6 separate regions of the Homo sapiens genome follow, and all the other regions are linked to region 3. The links are contacts of gene promoters, found by promoter capture Hi-C in blood cells and fetal thymus (Javierre and others, 2016). All regions are on one chromosome and are shown on one strand. Each heading gives the region's core, a stretch centred on a gene start or on the middle of the fragment in contact. The rest is flanking DNA. Distances are from core to core; before and after follow the strand shown.

The links. The method cuts DNA at HindIII sites, captures the fragments that hold promoters and counts their contacts. A CHiCAGO score of 5 or more calls a contact.
Region 1: a fragment that was not itself captured here is called in contact with the fragment with the promoter of CTNNA1 in region 3 in 2 of 17 cell types (endothelial precursors and M1 macrophages); the score reaches 9.7 in endothelial precursors.
Region 2: a contact is called between a fragment that was not itself captured here and the fragment with the promoter of CTNNA1 in region 3, in 1 of 17 cell types (M2 macrophages). The highest score is 5.3, in M2 macrophages.
Region 4: a contact is called between a fragment that was not itself captured here and the fragment with the promoter of CTNNA1 in region 3, in 2 of 17 cell types (endothelial precursors and erythroblasts). The highest score is 6.3, in endothelial precursors.
Region 5: a contact is called between a fragment that was not itself captured here and the fragment with the promoter of CTNNA1 in region 3, in 1 of 17 cell types (endothelial precursors). The highest score is 8.4, in endothelial precursors.
Region 6: a fragment that was not itself captured here is called in contact with the fragment with the promoter of CTNNA1 in region 3 in 1 of 17 cell types (endothelial precursors); the score reaches 8.1 in endothelial precursors.

The regions. Positions count from the first base shown.
Region 1 is chr5:139,227,621-139,231,337 of GRCh38, reverse strand. No RefSeq gene overlaps it. Among named protein-coding and RNA genes, the nearest start is that of SIL1, 31 kb to the right of the region's middle. The HindIII fragment of the contact is 976 bases long and covers 1,159-2,134 here.
Region 2 is chr5:139,160,956-139,164,743 of GRCh38, reverse strand. All of the region lies in intron 1 of SIL1 (SIL1 nucleotide exchange factor), which reads left to right. Among named protein-coding and RNA genes, the nearest start is that of SIL1, 36 kb to the left of the region's middle. RefSeq lists a silencer at 417-617. The HindIII fragment of the contact is 1,961 bases long and covers 389-2,349 here.
Region 3 is chr5:138,751,722-138,755,182 of GRCh38, reverse strand. It overlaps CTNNA1 (catenin alpha 1), which reads right to left and starts at 1,758. Exons shown (of 18, transcript NM_001903.5): 1 at 1,673-1,758. It overlaps CTNNA1-AS1 (CTNNA1 antisense RNA 1), which reads left to right and starts at 1,259. Exons shown (of 2, transcript NR_134244.1): 1 at 1,259-1,660. RefSeq lists enhancers at 591-1,157, 1,158-1,725 and a silencer at 1,429-1,868. The HindIII fragment of the contact is 6,352 bases long and covers 1-3,461 here.
Region 4 is chr5:139,181,357-139,184,880 of GRCh38, reverse strand. All of the region lies in intron 1 of SIL1 (SIL1 nucleotide exchange factor), which reads left to right. Among named protein-coding and RNA genes, the nearest start is that of SIL1, 15 kb to the left of the region's middle. The HindIII fragment of the contact is 1,166 bases long and covers 843-2,008 here.
Region 5 is chr5:139,136,909-139,140,435 of GRCh38, reverse strand. The region is part of intron 1 of SIL1 (SIL1 nucleotide exchange factor); the gene reads left to right. Among named protein-coding and RNA genes, the nearest start is that of SIL1, 60 kb to the left of the region's middle. The HindIII fragment of the contact is 621 bases long and covers 1,074-1,694 here.
Region 6 is chr5:139,211,455-139,215,083 of GRCh38, reverse strand. No RefSeq gene overlaps it. Among named protein-coding and RNA genes, the nearest start is that of SIL1, 15 kb to the right of the region's middle. The HindIII fragment of the contact is 3,764 bases long and covers 454-3,629 here.

The DNA of each region.
Region 1 (3,717 bases), core at 397-2,896, 480 kb before region 3:
TCCCTCATTGGCCTGGCATAGTGAGGAATTACAGGTGTGAGCTATTGCACCTCGGCAAACTTTTAATTTTAGAATAGTTTTAGATTTACAGGAAAGTTGGAAAGACAGTATAGAGTTCCTACACACTGCACACCTAGTTTCCCCCTCTATTATCATCTTACATTAATATGGCACTGTTGACCTAAAAGAATAAAATGAAGCAAAGTTAATATAGATAATTTATTTAGACCAAGGTTGAAAACCATAGCCCAGAGTCATAGGTTCCAGTTGCCCTGAATATATGCTCTAATTAGCAGCAATTACAAGAGAGTTTTTAAGAGGTTAAAAAGAAAAAAGAAGGGAGAGGATAGTTCCTAAATTGTTTACCAATAACTTATTGGTTCATTAAAATAACATAAGCTATCGATTGGCTATAATTGTTCTTTGTATCACAAATTCCAGGAACGTGAAAATAATGAGTGAGGATCACATTGTGCAACTTGTGGCAACATTTTAGATAATTTATCAGCTAACCTGAAGCTAAAGGGAAGAAGAAAAACAAAATACCTTTAAACAATTTCCACCAGCCATGGGTTGGGGGATGTAACTGAGTCTCAGGCTCATGTCTCTCTCTGTGCCTGATAAATTTTGCAGACCCCCACGTTCCTCACATGCTCTGAGCCACTTTTTTTTCTTTTCTTTTTTTTTTTTTGAGATGAGGTTTCACCCTGTCACCCAGGCTGGAGTGCAGTGGTGCAATCACGGCTCACTGAACCTCGAGCCTCTCAAGTAGCTGGGACTACAGGTGTGCATGATCATACCCATGAATTTTTGTATTTTTTGTAGAGACAGGACTTCACCATGTTGTCCAGGCTAGTCTCGAACTCCTGGTCTCAAGCAATCCACTCGCCTTGGCCTCCCAAAGTGCTGGGATTACAGGTGTGAGCCACTGTGCCCGGCAGTCAGACTTTTTCCATTTTTGATGATCTTAACACTTGGGAGGAGTATTGGTCAAATATTTTGTAGAACGTGCTTTGACTGGGATTTATCTAAGTTTTTCTCATGATTAGGGTTATGGAGTTTTGGAAGGAAGACCACAGAAATAAAGTGACATTCTCATCACATCATATCAAGCAACATGACTTATTACTATTGATTTTAAGCTTGATCACCTAAGCTTACGTTTGCCAGGTTTCAACACTATAAATTTAGTCCTTTATCTCCCTCTTCCCATCCTATACTCTTTGGAATGAAGTTTCTATTCACAGCCTACACTGAAGGAGTGGGGAGTTGTAATCCACGTCCTTGAGGGATAAGTGTCTAAATAAATTATTTGGAATTCTGCAAGAAAGATTTTTCTCTTTGCCTTTTGTTTATTCAGTTAATTAATTTACATCAGTATATACTTATGAATATTTATTTTGTACTTTGGGTTTTAATCCAATAATGCTTCGTTTTGTTGCTCAAATGGTTCCAATTTTGGTCACTGGTAGTTCTTTCAGTTGGTTCCTATGTCTCTTTGACACACTCCCAACATGTGTTTTTGTCTGAACCCTTCCTTTCCTTCTGATACTACAAGATTCTCCAGGCTCACATTATATATTTCCTGCCCCAACCTAAAATCAGCCATATTTCCAAGGAGCCTGGTTTATTTTATTACAAAGATGTTTCATATCTAAAATTGTTATTTCTGGCCAGGTGCAGTGGCTCACGCCTGTAATTCCAGCACTTTGGGAGGCCGAGGCGGGTGGATCACCTGAGGTCAGGAGTTCGAGACCAGCCTGGCCAACCTGGTGAAACCCCACCTCTACTAGAAATACAAAAAATTAGCTGGGTGTGGTGGCAGACACCTGTAATCCCAGCTACTCAGGAGGCTGAGGCAGGAGAATCGCTTGAATCCAGGAGGCAGACGTTGCAGTGAACCCAGGAGGCAGAGGTTGCAGTGAGCCAAGATAGTGCCACTGCACTTCAGCCTGGGCAACAAGAGTGAAACTCTGTATCTAAAAAAAAAATAAATTGTTATTTCTTTGCATTCTATCTGTATCTCCCACTAGAACATTAGGCCTTTAAAATCAGGACCTTTTCTGCTTGTTCACTGCTATATCTTCATTACCTAGAATAGTATCTGGCACACAGGAGGATATCAATAAAAGCTTAGTGAATGAATGAATAAATTAGTAAGGCCAAGTATTGTGCCTTTTTACATATGCATTCTTCATGATGTTATAAGAATTTGATCAAAGTATAGTTGTATTGATAGATGGATACATGGATGTATGAATGGACAAATGAATGAATTAATACTAACCAGATGGACACATTATTGGGTGTATGAATGAATTGAGAAACAGATGGATGGATGTTGCTGCCACTACTATACTCTCTAGTTATTCAGGTGAAAACTAGGTGATGAGGGGCCTCATTCATAATTCCTTCCACACTTTCACCTCCCACATCCAATCAACCACTAAGTCCTGCCAATTTTGCATCTCAAATATTTCTCAAACCCATTTCCTTTTCTTCATTTCAACTACTATTGCCCTGCTGCAGGCTCTCTTCCTCTCTTGCCTGGATGCTTCTGCAGCCATGTAACTCATCTGTCCACTTTCTGCCATGTTTCCATCCCCACCACCATCTACATTCCTGCCAGAAGAATTATTGTAAAATACTGTTATGCCTGTGTCACTCCCTTGCTTAAACCCTTAGGGTAAAGTCTAAGCTCCTTAGCATGATATAAAGTGCCTGTGATGACCTGGACCTTGGCCACTCCTCCACCCTCTCTTCTTGCCATTCTCCACCTTGCATTGATTTGTGTGCCTCAGAAATACCAAACTGCTTGTAGTTCCCATCAGGGATCATGCTGCTTCTCTGCTCTGTCCTTTGCTCGTACTAGTCTCCCTGCCTAGAATGCCCTTTCCTCACATCTGGAGCTCAGAAGTCTTACTGGCTTCAAGTTGTTGAAAGCATGTATTTTTGCAGTTGTGGTTATGCTTATTAGGAGAGCCAGGGCAAGGGCACAAAATTTAAGTTGTTTTGCAAGTGAGAATGAACACATCTTTAAATCTTGTGCCCTGGGTGCTTTACTTATCCTAGTCTTGGCCCAGTCTTGTCTCCTAGGCTGGGAGCTTCCAGAGGGCAAGAATTTTGTCTTTTATCCCTGTAATCCCTAGCACAATGACTGGTGTCTAGTAGGTACTCAGTGTAAATGTTTGTGGGAGGGAAAGAGGGAAGATGAATCAGAAGTCCACTGCTTGGGCCTTCAAATCTAGACTCTGTCTCTTACTAGCTATGGGAATCTGACCAAGTTATTTCTCTGCTTCTCAGTTTTCTTATCTGTGGAAAAGAAATAATAACATCTCCATTACAGGATTTTTTTTCCATTTTAAGGAAAATTACCCGTTTCACCAAAATTTTCAAACTTATTGCTTTAAAATATTTTTTTACAGTGTTCTCTTATGACTTTAAATTTTCTGCTATACAGCTATATCTTCTTTTAAATGTTTTTTTTTTTTTTTTTTTTTTTTTGGAGATGGAGCCTTGCTCTGTTGTCCAGGCTGGAGTGCAGTGGCGTGATCTCAGCTCGCTGCAACCTCCGCCTCCCGGGTTCAAGCTATTCTCATGTCTCAGCCTCCCAAGTAGCTGGAATTACAGGGGCCAGTCACCATGCCTGGCTAATTTTTGTATTTTTAGTAGAGACGAGGTTTCGCCATGTTGGTCAGGCTGGTCTGGAACTCCCAA
Region 2 (3,788 bases), core at 120-2,619, 410 kb before region 3:
TCTTCCTTACTAGCTTTTGGACTTTGTTCTTATTACTTCTGTGACTTAGTTTCTTCATCTGAATAAGTGTGTACTGATACCCACCTCCTAGGGCAGTTAGGATGAAATGAAATAATGGAGGTCATGTGCTTGGCACATGGTAGGTGCTCAATGAATGGTGAAGATTGTAATGCCTTTAAAGAGCTCAAGTTTCATTAGGGACAGAACCCATGGGCCCGACCCTAGGGGCTGAGAGAGGCTGACTAACGACATGGGGACAGTGGGGTTGGGTTTGCCTTGTTAGGGAAGGTTCTTGGAGAAGGTATTTGGAGTCAGGCCTCAATCTGTGTCCCTTACTGGGGAAGGTGAGCGGCTCCTTCAAGTAGAGAGAAGGCAATGGGCAGAAGCTTTGAGTAGTAACCAGAAAGAACTGTTTTTTCTCTTCCCTCTTGTGAGGGAAGGGATGGAGTCATTAGAGAAAGTAGCTGGTGCACTGGCTCTTTTGAGTCAGAGAGACTTGGAGTCCCTTCCTGGCTTTGTGCCATGTACATGTTGCGTGGCCTTTGGCAAGTCATTTCCCCTCCTGTCTGAACTTTGGTTACTTTATCTGTAAAATGGAGATGATAATATCTTTTTTTTTTTTTTTTTGAGACATTCTCTTGTTGTTGCCCAGGCTGGAGTGCAGTGGCACGATCTTGTCTTACTGCAACCTCTGTCTCCTGGGCTCAAGCTATTCTTGTGCCTTAGCCTCCCGAGTAGCTGGGATTACAGGCTTACGCCACCATACCCAGCTAATGTTTGTATTTTTAGTAGAGACGGGGTTTCACCCTGTTGGCCAGGCTAGTCTTGAACTCTTGGCCTCAAGTGATCTGCCCGCCCAGCCTCCCAAAGTGCTGGAATTATAGGCGTGAATTATAGGAATTATAGGTGAGATGATAATATCTACTTACAGTGCTGGATGAGGATGAAATAATTGCAATTTTAAATGGCAAAAACCACAATTACTTTTGCACCAACCCAATATTTAATACATTTAGTACAGTGCCCTTCACTTAGTGCATATTTAATAACTGATAAATTAAAAAATAGTGAAGCAGCTGGGCATGTTGGCTCATGCCTGTAATCCCAGCACTTTGGGAGGCCGAGACGGGCGGATCACTTGAGCCCAGGAGTTCAACACCAGCATGACCAATATGGTGAAACCCCATCTCTACCAAAAACACAAAAAATAGCCAGGCGTGGTGGTGGGCACCTGTAATCCCAGCTACTCAGGAGGCGGAGGCAGGAGAATCGCTTGAACCTGGGAGGTGGAGGTTGCAATGAGACGAGATGGTGCCACTTGACTCCAGCCTGGGTGACAGAGCGATACCTTGTCTCCACAAAAGAAAAAACCGAAAAAAAAACAAAACAGTGAAGCATTTCTTTTGGGGAAATTAAGCTGTTTTAAATTTCTGTGGTTAGATAACTTTTCTGAAAAGTCAGTTTCCATCTTGGAATCAGTTATCAGTTTCCCTCAATTTCTTAAGGAGCACGTCACCTTGCTGCCTGACGCCCTTTGGGCTCACCATCATACTTAGAATCAACTCCAAACTCCTTAGCCTGGTTATAAGGCCTTTCATATTCCGATCCCTGCCTGCCTTCCTTGGCAGCTTTATCTCCTAACCTCCCCTACTCCCTTCTGCTTGCCTTCTGTGTTCTGGACACAGTAACTTACTTTCTGCTTCTTAAACAGAGGGCCTTTGCTCCACCTGTACCCTCTGCCTAGAATATTTTTCTCTCGTCTTCATTGGATGAGCTCTTTGTCATTCTCAGCTCAGTTCTGCTGTTATTTACAAGAAAGGCTCTTCCTTTTATCTGGTATAAAGTGACTACTTAAGTCACCATAACTTAACCACTTGATATTTTTCTTGCTTTTCTGCTTCTTGTTGACTCTGTTTTCCCTCCACTAGAACGTAAGTTTCATGAGAGTAGGGACGAGATCTGTTTGTCACATTCACAGCTGTATTCCCAGTCCTAGGAAAGGTACCTGGCATATAGTAGATGATCAAACAACATTTGTTGAATGAATGAGCTGTGAATGAGAATGTGTTCTTTTATTACGCTGAACCTGGGTACACAGGTGTTCACATTCACATTCCTACTGCTTTGTTCCTTAAATAAATGTAATCAAGATGATTTTCTTTCTTATTCATTAACTATTGTGCTCCTCCACTCCCATTAATTGGAACAGTCTGTGGAGAGGCCATTTTCCCCTTCCTTCGTTTTATGTGGCTCTCTTTCTTCCTAGCATTTTGTTACTGGAAGGGGGAGTTTGTGGTTGCTAGGCTTTGAGCATTGATTTTTAGGATTTCTGTCATAAGGAAGCAAGCTTTAGTGAATTGGTTTGGAATAAAACAAACACAAAAGCTCACCAGGAATAGCAAATTTATCTCACTCTGATTTTTTACTGACATTTTTTGTAGTACTCCCTAAGTTCTTAGATAAGGTCATTAGACAGGAATTGACAATGGCCAGATAGAAACAAATTCACAGAATGTGAGTGGGTGGCAGGGTGAGACATGGAGAGGTCAGAGGGGATAGTGCTTCTCTTTCTGGTAGTGGCCTGGTTTTTCATGGCAAATATTGGCCAGTGTAACTGTTCTCCTTTCGTAGGGCCTGTATGTTTGGGAGCTGTAGAGACTGTAGGGGGACTGCTCAGTGCTGGTGTGCCCACCTGGTAAGGCCTAGGCAATCCTAATTTTTTTTTTTTTTTGAGACAGAGTCTCTCTCTGTTGCCCAGGCTGGAGTGCAGTGGCATGATCTTGGCTCACTGCAACGACCACTTCCCAGCCTCAGATGATCCTCCCACCTCAGCCTCCCAAGTAGTGGGGACTACGGGAGCGTGCTACCATGCCCAGCTAATTTTTGTGTTTTTAGTAGAGATGGGGTTTTGCCATGTTGCCCAGTCTGGTCTCAAACTCCTGGACTCAATCTGCCCACCTCAGCCTCCCAAAGTGGTGGGATTACAGGCATGAGCCACCGCACCTGGCCAGCAATTCTAATTCTTTGCTTTTCTAGGGAAGTGCTCCAAGCTCCTGGGAGTAAGGAAGATGTGGGACTCTGGTCACTTTTGAAAACGTTTGAGTCCTAAATGTTATTGGTGCTCAAAGACCTGGTTCTTAAGATAATAAAATCCCAGGGATGGATATGAGAAAGAGAGAGTGTCTAGAACAGGGTTAGCCGACAGATGTTCATTAGCTTTCCCAAAAACAATTCTTTGTGTGTTGAGAACTGTAGCCCTGCAGATACTGGTCTCTACTCATGTCTAGGGCTCCTTTTTCCCACCTGAAGCTGGCTTCTCCTTTTCCTTTTCTCAAAGCACATGGTTACCTTTAACCTGACTTAGATGTTGTCTACTCTTCACTATACGGCTCTCAAATGAAGGATATTGGACAGCCTGCTTGTTAGCTTTCTCCTTCATTTCCCTTATTTAAAGATTTGGCCTTGTGGCTGACTGAGGGTATTTGGTTATTCTTTTTTTTGAGTCAGAGTTTCACTCTTGTTGCCCAGGCTGGAGTGCAATGGCGCGATCTCAGTTCATCGCAACCTCTGCCTCCCAGGTTCAAGCGATTCTCCTGCCTCAGCCTCCTGAGTAGCTGGAATTACAGGCATGCGCCACCATGCCCAGCTAATTTTGTGTTTTTAGTAGAGACGAGGTTTCACCATGTTGGTCAGGCTGGTCTCAAACTCCTGACCTCAGGTGATCCACCCGCCTCAGCCTCCCAAATTGCTGGGATTACAGGCATGAGCCACCGCGCCCAGCCTGTTAT
Region 3 (3,461 bases), core at 509-3,008:
GTACTGTTAAGGCACTTACTGCAGTCCGCTCTGTACTACACCTGGGGTGTGTGTCTCCCCTATTACACTGTGAGCTCTTAGGTGGATTAAAAAATTATTCTTTCGCTGAATAAATATCCAGATGGGGTCAGGCACCCTGGCTCAGGCCTGTAATCACAACACTTTGGGAGGCTGAGGCAGGAGGACCACTTGAGCCCAGGAGTTCGAGACCAGCTTGGGCAAGACAGCGAGACACCATCTCTACCAAAAATACAAAAATTAGACGGATGTGGTGGCGCGTGCCTGTAGTCCCAACTACTTCGGAAGCCGAGGTGGGGGGATCACTTGAGCCCAGGAGACAGAAGCCGCAGTGAGTCATGATCGTGTCACTGCGCTCCAGCCCGGGCGACGGAGACCCCGTCTTTAAAAAAAATGTTTGTTCAAAAGTCCAGATTGGTAAATAATTAGGCAGAAACTATAGGTAACTCCTACACTCATTCTTCATTCTTCCTGTAAAACAAAATAACACATCCTAATTAATTCGATTTATAAATTCCGTTCCTTAAAGTAACACCCACCTGTCCAGTATTTAAAAATCACTGCTGACTAAACACAAATATTCGCTCCACAAAATGCCTATCCTGTCCCAACAATGATGTAAGCATTTCCTTCATCATAAATATAAAATGCCCCGAATTTAGTCGTAGACTTGACATATCTCGCTCTTTTCCAAATAATTGTAAATTCTGTACAAAACACACGCACCAAAAAAATGTCACCAAGATGCAAGAGGACGTAAGAGGGAGTCAACCTTGGAACTGGGCCAACCGCCGCCTGCATTACTGGGAAGCCACTGCTGCCAAGCAAAGGTCAGGCATTCATTCAGGCAACATTTTTTCCAACAAGTGCTTCACACTCGCACGCACACACACGCTCCTTTAAAAGTCAACAACAATTAAAAAAAAAAAAAAACCTCTCTAATGCCACTCCTGAAAACTAGGGCTGAAAGCTAAGTGCGTCCAACCGACAAGAAACCCAGGAAAGCTGAGTAATCCCCGAGTCCAAGTGGACGGTCACGCCAAAAGTCCACACGGGTGTGGCCCACCTACGGCGAAGCTGTATGGGAGAAGCCCGGGCTCCAGCCTCCCGGTTCGCCGAGCCCGCGTCCCCGCCGCCCCATCGGGAAGTCTCAGCGGCCGGGAAGGGGGAGGGGGCAGGAACGCCTCGGAGCCGGACGACAATCACTTCCCGGGAAAGCGGCTCCCAGACAAGCCGCCCCAGGGAAGGAAGGCGGCCGAGGGGCCCGGCGCGGGGCTGCCGCGCGCGCCGAGGCCGCGGTAACAAAGTTTGGAAACCGCGAGAAAACTTTTCCAAGAGGAAACGCGGCGGCGGCGCTGGGCCTATAGTTTCTCCTCCCCAGCCCAGGCGGCCCCCCGACTTCCCGAGCGCTGGGAAGCGCCGGCCGTGCCCGCCCGGGCCCCATACTCGGGCCCTGCGGGGGAAGGGACCGCCGGCCCGACGCGGGTCCCACGCCCGCCCGGGGCCCAATTCCCGGCGACGTCGCCAAAGAAACCGCGCCCCGCCCGCTCGCCCGCCCGCGGCTCGCGGGGCCCAGCTTGGGACGGCCCGGCCCAAGGACCCTCTCGGCCTGGCCCGAGAGACCGCGCCCGCGAGGAGGGAGGTACGAAGTTACCTGCGGCTAGCTGGGCGAGCGCTAAATTCCAGAGGCCCGAAGCAGACGGGCGCTGCTTTGTCTCCCTCCAGTCCGGCTAGGAGGAGGAAATGGGCCGCCCCACGCCCCCGCCCCCGGCCCGCCCCCCGCCCGCGGCCCCCGCCCCTGTCCCGGCCCCGCCCGCCCTTCCTGGCACCTCCCTCCGACTCGCTCTTCCCGGCGCCTCCCGCCGCCGCCCCGCCCGCTCCTCCCGGCCGTTCCGGCCTCCGCTTTTGGGGAAAGGGAAGGCCCCCACCGCGAAGAGAGTCTGGCAACGCCGGACCGGGACCCCCGAGGGACCTCTTCCTCCCCGCCGCCCACCTCAGAATTCCTTCCTCCCCGGCCCCTAGTGGGAGCTTAGGCCGGGAGTGACCCCTGAGAGGGAGGAGGAGCGGTGACTCCTGGAACAGCCCGCGGGCGGAGAGGGCTGCGCGAGGGCAGGTGAGTCACCGCTCCGCGCACAGGTGAGGCTCAGGGGCGGCCTCGCGCGGGCCCCCACCCCGGCGGAATCCCAGAGACGCGACCAGGGGTACTGGGCACGCTCCCCTCAAGAGTGTCACAGGTGTCCCGGAGTCACAGTCTTCTGGAAAAGTGATCTAGGCCAACTACCTGGCTTTACAGAAGGAGAAGCGGAGGCTAAGGAAAGGCCCCACAGCTTCGGGACACAGTGGAACTAGAATCTGACTCTCAGGACCTTTCATAATGTGAGGTGGAAGCGCCCCTAGAATTCACCTAACCCGTCCCCTCACTCCACAGATGGAAACACCCGAAGCCCTCTTGATCAAGGACTTTTTTTTTTTTTTAAGACGGGGTCTCCCTCTGTCGCCCAGGCTGGGGTGGAGTGTCGCGATCACGGCCCACTGCAGCCTCAAATCCCTGGACAACCGACCCTCCCACCTCAGCCTCCGGAGTAGCTGGAACTACAGACACAGAGTCTCACTATGTTGCCAGGCTGGTCTCAAACTCATGGGCTCAAGAAATCCTCCTCAGCCTCCCAAAGTGCTGGGATTACAGGCTAGAGCCACCTTGCGGGGAGGACATTTACAAACACAAAAGAGGCACCGCAGCAGCTGTCCCTTTTTGGGCTTGTTCCCGCCCCGCCCCCAGCACGTCCCCCCTCCCAGCTTGTCCCCCTCCTCCAACAAATTTGAGGGACCTGACTTCTATCTCTATTCCTCTGGTCATTTGGGGCATTTTATTCTTACCCTTTCTTATCTTCATAGTGAATACTCCAAAAACAAAAGAAAACAAAATTACAAAGCAAACAAACAACACAAAAAAACAAAAACTACTACATGCTCACTATCATCCTGGTATAGAAAACCCTAATGATGTTTCCCCTGCTCACGGGATGATGAATAAGATAGATTTCAGTATTGGCCTATAAACCTGAATAATGCAAGACGACGATGTCCACTGCTGGCCTTGTGCTGAATAGAGAGCAGGGTGCTAGGGAGACCTGCCCTTACCGTGTTTACCCTCTACTCCTCACATCTCCCTCTCCCCCAAGGGAATATAAACTTCTGGAAAGCAGGAGCTGTATCTCCTGCAGCACCCAGCACATTGCCCATCCCCTAGGGAGTGCCTAGTGAACATCTGTGGGTGAATGTGCCCACTGTAATTCAAAGTACTGTGGGCCTGTGCTAGTTAACAGATGCTGACAAAGGGCAATAGGACCATGAAGTGGGGAGAGAACAACCTTTAAGAAAAAGAGGATGGGCACAGTGGCTCACACAAGTAATCCCAGCACTTTGGGAGGCCAAGATGGGTG
Region 4 (3,524 bases), core at 176-2,675, 430 kb before region 3:
TGGACCCAGTCGCTGTAGACTGCCTCTCAGATGTGACAGCTTGGCCTCTCTGCTCCCTAGAAATGTCCTAGGGTTTCTCATGCAGGGGTCTTTGGAATAACAATCAGGTGTAAAGTATGTGCAATATTTTACTGTTTTCAAATTTTACTGTTTTCAGTCTGATTCTTATGACATCCCCATTTATTTATTTTTTAGTTGTAGTTTTTTTAGAGACAACATCTCACTCACACCCAGGCTGGAGTAACAGTGGTGTGATCGTAGCTCACTGCAACCTCAAAATCTTGGGCTCAAGATATCCTCCCACCTCAGCCTCCTGAGCTGGGACTATAGGCATGTGCCACCATGCCTGGCTAATTTTTTAAAATTTTTTTGTAGAGATGGGGTTTTGCTATGTTTCCGAGGCTGGTCTTGAACTCCTGGCCTCAAGCGATCCTTCCACCTTGACCTCCCAAAGTGCTGGGATTATAAGAATGAGCCACTGTGCCTGGCCACACAACACCCCCATTTTATGGTGGTAAAATATTGAGGCTCGGAGAGTCTAAATGACCCATTTAGGGTCATACTGCTAGCCAGAGTAGGGCTGTGACTAATCCAGGTAGCTTTGTCTCCTATTAATGTACCTTGTTCTTAGTTCTTGTAGCAATGAGGCAGTCCTCTTTGGAATTCTTTACCATTTCCAGGACCATTGCAGTTAGGGCAGGAATGGAGTGGTGGTGATTCCTCTTTCCTCTTTTGGTTTGAACCCTCCTTTCAGGATGCTTAGTTACACAGGCCTGTCCTCTCTGGAAAAAGGGGATCAGTAGTAGGTTTCTCCACTTTTTGGAGAAACCTAAACTAAAGCTTCAATGGGGCAATACCTTTTAGGAGAGTTTGAACTGACAGTCTGGCTTCCTATTCTTTGCGGAGAGTTATTGCTGCTATTAGGCAGAGGGCTTTGTTTCCAGGTTACAAATCTTTTTAGCAAAGAAGTGAGTGTGGAATAGAATTGGAAGGACTTGTGTAGTCCTTGGATATAATTTAATGCTCCACATCCCAGAGAGAGTAAACATTGTAAAGTGTGCAAGATGGGTTTGGATTAATATCCTGACAGCATGTGGCTTGGCATGTAGGGCATTCCTTGGAGACCCTTCTTACCATACACAGCCTGCCTTTGCCGGGTGGCCTCTTCCCACAGGTCTTCCCAGCAGCTGTTGTGCACCTGGGTGAATCATCCGCTTCCCTGTGCTTTGAAAAAACCCATTTTAACTGATGAAAGCCCTCATACAGGAGGTGCAATAAACAGACAACCTTGAAAATGTTTTTTAGTACAACCTAAGCTGCCTCTGAGTTTGTCCAGGGTATTCACCTCCATTAGGAGCACTGGCTGATTCTCACCTCTGGTCTCTTCTGAATAGAATATGGAAAATCACCTTGCCCTTTCTACTCTGCTGCACCTGACATCATGGGTGTGGAAGGTCTCTGGAAACTCCGGGGAGGCAGGAGCACCATGGACATGGAGGGAAGGCTCATTTGCTTCTAAGGACCATGCAGAAATCCTTGGCTTTTTACTTCTGTTAGTCCTACTTAAATCAGAATTTAAAGCCTTCAAATAGAATTCTGTGTATGGCTGACATAGCATGGAGTAGGGAAGGCTTCTTTGTAATTTCTGAGGAGAACTTGGGGGCATGTAGAGGTCATGCTTAGGTTCTTTCCTTACCCAGACCTGACCTGTGCCGGGCCAGAGAGGTTTGCCCTAGAAAGCTGATGACTTAGGACCTTACTGGTGTGCAGCTTTGCAGGCCTGTAAACTTAGTTAGTTCATCCAGGTTTCAGTTCCTGGGGGCCTGCCTCAGGCATGTGAAATTCATAAGAGACCATCAAGTCACAGTTCCAGTTAACTAACTCCAATAAACATGACGACTAAGTTGATTTATGTGGACATGTAAGAGCATCTCTCCTCTGTAGGAGAGATTAGCTGGGAAGCCAGCTCCCCTCTGGAGGAAACCAAGGCAAATTATGGTGGCAAGCTTTTGGGTCATAGCATCAGATACACCCAGATTTAAACCATGTAACAGCTGTGAGACTTCAGAGGAGCTACTCAACCCCCCTGCTCCTGTGTCCTCAGCTGTGAAACCCCCTGGGTTTTTCAGATATATACATGGTAAGCACTCAATAAATGTTTTGTCTCACTTGTTTCTCACTCTTCCCTCTTCCCCTTTTCTCCTTCCCACTTTGTCCTTCTAGGGCTATATTGTAATCTGACCAGAATACACTTGTCAGTCTATTAAGGCACCAGGTACTGGAGATAGACTCATTTTTATTCTCTTGGCTCCCTTTATATATTCTTTGCCGTCCACGGCTCTTTTGTTACCACAGGTTACAATAGGAACAGTTAGATTCTAGCTCTTGTCAGTGGCTTCCAACCTAAGGGTTCTTTCTGGTTACCATTCAGTCCACCATTATTTGCTGAGTACCCATTGTGTGCCAGGACCTGCTTAGCCCTGGAAATACAGTGATGAATGAGACAGATGTGGTCCATGCCTTGAGTAACACCTCTTCAAACCCCCTCCTTAGATAGGTGACTTCTGTGGATGACTCGCCCTGCTCATTCCGTGTTGCGTCATATTAATTTCCTTCTGAGAGGGCAATCTTCTCCTTAGACCTAGGGAACAGTGCCTTTTTGTGCTGCGTGGACCTTGCCTGCTGGCTTGCCTGCTCCCAAGCAATGAGAGCAGCGTGTTGAGGCTGAAGGAGAAAGCCCCCCGGGCTACTACTGCCCTGGCCACACATGTCCCAAGAGGCTGCACTTGGCACTTCTGAATGTTCCTTTTCTCCTTGCACACAGATTATAGTGTTTACTGCTCGTTTAAATTCAAATAACCTTCCACCCCCTTCTCTGCCTTAAAAAAAACCAAAAAAACAAAAACTGTGTATTACAGTGTAGAAAACAAAACAGGCCAGCCCTGGTCCCCTGGCGAGGTTTGTTTTAACATCATTTTTTAGTGAAGCCTTGCTATGGGTTGCCTTTACTTTAATAGGGCTAATGTGTAATTCAGGCATATTGATAGTCTGCAGTTAAAGAATCTCACATCTTTTTTCTACCTTGATTGTCATCAACAGTGTGAAAGGTAGATGCAAGGGCTTTGGCTGACAGGAGGTGGGACTTCTCTGCTTTGGCCTCCAGACTCTATCCTGGACTCTGGCGGGTCCTATAAAGAAGGCTGAGCAGCCAGTTTAGTGATTTCTCAACTTCAAAATAGAAGCCTGGAGATAGTCCTACCCCTCCTCTCCCTTCTGCCAATTTTACCAGCAATTGCCAAGAACTGTGTGTGGGGAACCAGGCAGAATGACTCTCTGGAAATCATTTGTTTGAGAACTCCCAGTGGAGGAATGCATTTTCCTGTGCTTCTTCTCTTGTGATGGTGTGTGCTGTTGTGATTTGGTACTGCTTGTCCCTCTGCAGTACTGAGACTTGTATATAACTCCTCCAGCCCTGCGGGGGTTTTCAACAATAAATTGCTTGCTGGGTAGTATTTCCCCCAAAT
Region 5 (3,527 bases), core at 135-2,634, 390 kb before region 3:
TGGTAGTAGCAAGTCCTGTGCTTGGTGACCCATCCTCGTATTGTTGCTAAGTGTTTCTGTAAGTAAATGCTATTTTCTTGGGGCTCCCCAATTAGTTTAAGGAGTACCCTAATTATTGCCTAGCTCATTATTACAAAGTTGTAATTAGTGTCTTTTTTTTTTTTTTGAGACAGAGTCTTGCTCTGTCGCCCAGGCTGGAGGGCAGTGGCTCGATCTCGGCTCACTGCAACCTCCGCCTCCCAGGCTCAAGCAATTCTCTTGCCTCAGGCTCCCGAGTAGCTGGGATTACAGGCACCCATCACCACACCTGGCTAATTTTTGTATTTTTAGTAGAGACGGGGTTTCACCGTGTTGGCCAGGCTAGTCTTGAACTTCTGCCTCAAGTGATCCACCTGCCTCGGCCTCCCAAAGTTCTGGGATTACAGGCATGAGCCACTGCACCCAGCCTCAACTAATTTTTGTATTTTTTAGTAGAGATGAGGTTTCACCATGTTGGCCAGGCTGGTCTTGAACTCCTGACCTCGGGTGATCCACCTGCCTCAGCCTCCCAAAGTTTTGGGATTACAGGTGTAAGCCACCATGCCCGGCCCCAACTAGTTTTTGTATTTTTTAGTAGAGATGAGGTTTCACCATGTTGGCCAGGCTGGTCTTGAACTCCTGACCTCATGTGATCCACCTGCCTCAGCCTCCCAAAATGCTAGGATTACAGGTGTGAGCCACTGCGCCTGTCCTTTTCTTTTTAATAATTATGCTGTCTGAGACTAAGATGTGGAAGGCCACATTATCCACTGAATGTGAACAGGACATCATCCACCTGAGGCAAGTGACAATATCTTTTGTATATTCTGTTCCATAGTATGGTGCCCAGTGTGCTCAAGGAACTGACATTAATGCTGAAATTATCTTTGTGTGGTATTTGCTTTTAGAGTGTGAGTGCTGAATGCTTGCAATAGAAATGGCAAACAAATTGTACTTACCAGTTAGCAGATAGTTCCTTTAGAACTATGGACTGGAAATCATACCTTCTTCCCTATTTTAGCCCCTTTAAGAGGCCCTGATGTTTTCTGGAAGCTTAGAGACATCAGGGGAAAGGAAAGATGAATTCTGATCTCTCCTCCCCTCGAACCCTGACCGTGGTATCTGGATGACTGTGGTGTGAAAGTCCCTGGTGTTCTTTGGGAGCAGGCTATAGAGAAAGCCCATCGCACATACTGTCAGGAGATCCAGTTACTATTTTAAAAGGGGAGGGAAGAAAAGCCCTGGGACCCTTAGTCCCTGGATGCTAGCTGCATCTGTCTACAGTGGTCCCAGCAGTCTAGGTCAGCTGCATTTGCCCCGGCTGTTCCTACTCTCCCTGACTCCCCCTTAGAGGTAGGAGAGTGGCAGCAGGAATTTGGAGACAGGCCTGAGTCATCAGGAAGCGGGACTCTGAAGTGTTTGATGTCAGTCAGCTGGCACTGATGCAGAGCCAGCCAGCATCGCTTAAAGGTTTCAATGGAAATGTGTCTGTAACCACCCAGAGTATAGTCCAGGTGTGTGGGCTGACTTGTGGCTCAGGGAAGCTAGTCTCCAAAGAGGGGCTTGGTTGTCAGAACAGAAGACAGTTCTGTATGGGGGTGAAGCCCTCGCTGCTTTTGCTTATCCTATTCTTTGCTCAGAATTTTCTCTAATAATAGTAGTGAGAGCTATAAGCTTTATGAGCCCTCATTTTGTGTCAGGCACTGTGCTATATGCTCTATGTCATCTCATTTAATATAGACAGTCATACTAAATAGTTACTATCAAGTCCTCTTATAGATGAAGGGGTTGAAACTTGTAGAGGTTAAGCATCTGGCCCAAAGTCACACAGCTAGTAGGGGAGACTTGGCTCAAAATCCAGAGCCTGCATTCTTCCTATTACACTGTAGTGGGTTGGAAGGGAATGGAGCTTCTTGTAACCTTGGTTGTTATCAGACATGGGCTGATCACTCCCGGTACCTCAGGCAGGGTCAAGGATCAGGTATAAGGAGTAGGTCCCCTTGTCTGTATCTTGCTAGGAGCTTACAGTCTAGGACCTACTGGAAAGTACAGACTAGGACCTGAGTATTCCTCTGATTCATCTGGTCAACTGCTGGTATGCTTAGGCAAGCCCCATTCACCAAAGAAGACTCCGTCTTTGTCTGCCATGTAGAAATACTTCTGTCTTGTGTATTTTCTGCATGGAGGGGCGAGGTGTCAAGTTCTTGCCAGACAGTTGGGTGTGTGTATATACGTGGTGTGTGTGGTTGTGGTTTGTGTGTGTGTGTGTGTGTATATGTGTGTGTGTGCCTGGCACTGGGCTCCATGAAGGGGAGCAGGGATGCTTTTGCTTCGTGTATAGCTAGGAAGCTTGAGTGATAGGAGTTTAAGGGATCAAGTCACAAAGGAAGCCTGGCTGCAATCTGAGTCAAGGGATTTCTTCTTCCTGAATGCCTGTGCCTATGCCTTGGCTGGTCTGTGCCAAGGGCATTTAGTAATCAAGGTGCCTGTGTGTGGTATGTGTGTGTGTGCGCGTGTGTGTGGTGTGTGTTTGTGTGTGGTGCAGAAACTAGAACATGGTAGAGGTGGGTCTTTCCACAAGAGGGCCCCAGTAGGCTCATTTAAAAATTTCTGTCCTTTCTACATATGGCTAGCCAGTTTTCCCAGCACCCATTCAGAGGTGGGAATTGAACAATGAGAACACATGGACACAGGAAGGGGAACATCACACACCGGGGACTGTTGTGGGGTTGGGGGAGGGGGGAGGGATAGCATTAGGAGATATACCTAATGCTAAATGACGAGTTAATGGGTGCAGCACACCAACATTGCACATGCATACATATGTAACAAACCTGCACATTGTGCACATGTACCCTAAAACTTAAAGTATAATAATAATAAAATTAAAAAAAAAATTTCTGTCCTGACACAAAATGTGCCTTTTTATTTATACTGTTGCAGAACAAATAAAATGATGAGTCCAGTTTCTGTGGCTGATTTCACAGACCCCTCGAGAGACAGCACGGCTATGGAAAGAGCATGGCTTTGGGGCCAAACTGGCTTTGAATTCTGACTCTACTGCTCTGTGGCTGCATGAACTCTGGCACGTTACTTAACCTCTCTGAATTTTGGTCCCCTCATGGGTAAAATGAGCAGCATATTGGAACCACCTCAGAGGGTTGTCGTGAAGAGTAAATGAACTAATACTTTGCTTGCAACATGGAAAGTTCTCTATAAATGTTGACTATAATTATTATTTGACAGAATTAATTTTCCTCTGGGATGCCCAGATAGTATATTTGAATGCTGGGGGAAGGGGTGGCACTAGGGTATTTCTCTGTCTCCGCCATGGCGGAGTTATTATTACATTTCCACAAAGTGGAAGGACTAAAGCCTCCGGGCAGTCTGAGGCATGGCTGAGAGCCCAGAGAAGGTAGAATTGTGTCTGATGGGAGTTTCTTCTTAGAAATTTTACCTCCCTGCCCCCTCCTTCTGCTGGAGTGACTGATGCCCATCATTGTCCTGAG
Region 6 (3,629 bases), core at 1,086-3,585, 460 kb before region 3:
AGTATGAAGCTTAATACAGTATACAGTTTAATATGAGGTTATTCTCCTGTGATGCTCTAAGGACTGACATTTCGGAATTGGTGGCGGGTGGTGGCAATGAAATGCAACTTCTTATATTCTTCAACTCTTTGGTTGCCTCACATCTTCTGTCCCATCCATCTCACATCATTGGGGTTCTGGTCCACAGGAGTAGAGAGTAGGGAGTCAGAGATCCCTAGCCCCAGGCCCTCATCATGAGGACTACAGAAGAGCTCTTGTAAATCATTTCTGGAGGAGGTTATGAGCATGGTGTGGAGTTCTGCACTTCCTAATCACATGACAAGCAGAATTTAGCTGAATTTCTAGGCCTGTTAGAAAAAGATGAGTGGTGACAAAAAGCATGGAGACTTTCTGAGAAATATAGCTGCTTAATCTCAATGCCAATAATGTGATATCTGACAAAATTGGGAAGCTTACTTGGAAATCTAAAGGGAAAAAATGTCAACTATGATTTTTTTCTTGATAAAAACCTGTTCTTCCTTGTCCTTGGTGTGAAAGGAAATTTGTGGTTACACAGACTCTTCCCCAATGATTATAAAAATATTGGGCAAATGATGCAAAAGACGCTTTAGCAGGTATATTTTAGCCTAACTCAAGATCTGTTTTTCTCTGACACTTTGCATCAGACCTGGGTTCAAACACTCAATTTTCAGCTATATAAACTTGGACAACTTATTCAACTTTTCTGAGCTCAGTTTCTGCATCTGTAGGGGAGTAATAGAATAATAGAATCCTTATGAGGCTGTCGTAAAGGTCACATGAGATAATGCATGTACTTAACACAGTGCCGGGCTCATAGTGAGCATTCAATTAATATGGCAATTTGCAATGACCATCTGTAGATTTGCTGCCTAGATTCCATTCATCCTCCATCTGATAACTGTACCCCATTTCTTCCTGGTGAACCATCATTTTCTTTTCATTCCATGTGGTCCTAATGAAACTGACTCCATCCTCAGCATCAGGAGTAGAACATGTGGCGTAAGCTGGGTGCAGTAGCTCACACCTGTAATTCTAGCACTTTGGGAAGCTGGGCCAGGTGGATCACTTGAGGCCAGAAGTTTGAGACTAGCCTGGCCAACATGGCAAAACCCTGTCTCTACTAAATATACAAAAATTAGCTGGGTGTGGTGGTACATGCCTGTAATCCTAGCTACTCAGGTGGCTGAGGCATGAGAATCACTTGAACCTGGGAGGAAGAGGTTGCAGTGAGCCAAGATTGTGCCACTGCACTCCAGCCTGAGCAACAAAGTGAGACCCTGTCTTTAAAAAACAAACAAACAAGGCCGGGCGCGGTGGCTCACGCCTGTAATTCCAGCACGTTGGGAGGCCGAGGCGGGTGGATCACGAGGTCAGGAGATGGAGACCATTCTGGCTAACACGATGAAACCCCGTCTCTACTAAAAATACAAAAAATTAGCCGGGCGCGGTGGCGGGCGCCTGTAGTCCCAGCTACTCGGGAGGCTGAAGCAGGAGAATGGCGTGAACCCGGGAGGCGGAGCTTGCAGTGAGCAGAGATCGCGCCACTGCACTCCAGCCTGGGCGACAGAGCGAGACTCCGGCTCAAAAAAACAAACAAACAAACAAACAAAAAAGAACCTGTGACTTAGGTTTAAATCATTCATACCATTCTATTCTTAGGCCACAGTGATTGGTTCAAGAATGGGGACATACACAGAGTTACCGTACAATCCAGCAATTCCACTTCTAGGTAACCTTGTATGATCAACACTCAGTGTATGCAAAGGATTAGTTCCAGACGCCCAAGTACACCAAAATCCATGCAAACTCAAGTCCTGCAGTTGGCTCTGCAGAGCCTGAGTATACAAAAAGTCAGCCCTCCATATACTCAGGTTTCACATCCTGCGAATACTGTATTTTCAATTTGCATTTGGTAAAAAAAATCTGCATATAAGTGGATCCTTGCAATTCAAACTTGTGTTGTTCAAGGGTCAAGTGTATATGAATGCTCATAGCAGCATTATTCATAATAGTCAAAAAGTGGAAGCAACCCAACTATCTACCACTTGGCATCAGAATGCTGCTATGAACATTCATGTACAACTTTTTTATATTCATACAATGGGCTATTATTCAGCAATAAAAAGGAATAAAGTACTGATTCATGTTACAACATGGATGAACCTTATAAACATTATGCTAAGCGAAAGAGGACAGACACAAAAGGCCATATATTATTTGATTCAATTTATATGAAATATCTAGAATAGGCAAACCTGTGGAGACAGAAAGATTAGTGGTAGCCAGGCACTGGAAGGAGGGGGAATGGGTAGTGGCTGTTACTGAGTATAGGGTTTCTTTTTTTTTTGAGACAGGGTTTGGCTCTGTCGCCCAGGGTGGAGTGCAGTGGCTAACTGCCATTTCTGCCTCCCAGGCTCAAGCACTCCTCCCACTTCAGCCTCTGGAGTAGCTGGGACCATAGGCACTCGCCACCATGTCCAGCTAATTTTTGTATTTTTTATAGGGAAGGGGTTTCTTATGTTGTTCAGGCTGGTCTCAAACTCCTGGGCTCAAGTTGTCTGCCTGCCTTGGCCTCCCAAAATGCTGGGATTACAGGTGTAAGCCACTGTACTTGGCCTAGAGTTTCTCTTTAGGGTGATAGAAATGTTTTGGAATTAGATAGTGGTGATAATCATACAACATTGTGAATATATTAAAAACTACTGAATTGCATACTTTAAAAAGATGAATTTTATGGAATGTGAATTATATCTCAATTTAAAAAACTAAACCAGATAAAATAAAACAGTGGACATATGTCTCAAGTAGACTAATGACAGCCAGTAAGACCCACTCTAATTCTTTGGAGTCATGAGGGAAGCAAACTAGTTCCTTTCTTTCAGGACTCCAACTTGAGAGAATATAGGGTCTGGAGCTGCTGTCCTGTCTTGCTATGTGTAGATCCGGAGACTGAATTATCCAACTCAGCTGAAAGCAGAGCCAAGAAATGGAGACACCAAGACCTGTTTACACATTGGAGCTACAGTAATTAATTGTCCCAGTTTGCCTGGGACTTTCCTGGTTTTAGAACTGAAAGTCTGTATATCACGTTAAGCTGGAGCTCCGAATCCACCTCTGCTTGAAGGTCAACATGTTACCCGTGGACTTTTCAATTACAGTCATGCACCATGTAATGATGTTTTGGTCAATAACGGATCACATATGCGATGGTCATTCCATAAGATTATACTACAATAGTTTCACTGTACCTTTTCTATGTGTAGATATTTTTAATTTTAATTTTTTTTTTTTTGAGACACAGTCTCACTCTGCCACCCAGGCTGGAGTGCAGTGGCGCAATCTCGGCTCACTGCAACATCTCCCTCCCCGGTTCAAGCGATTCTTGTGCCTCAGCCTCCTGAGTAGCTGCAATTACAGGTGTGTGCCACCATGCCTGGCTAATTTTTTTATTTTTGGTTTTTTTTTTTTGAGATGGAGTCTCGCTCTGTCACCCAGACTGGAGTGAAGTGGCGTAATCTCGGCTCACTGCAACCTCCGCCTCCCGGGCTCAGGTGATTTTCCTGTCTCAGCCTCCGAGTAACTGGGATTACAGGCAGGCGCCACCACAC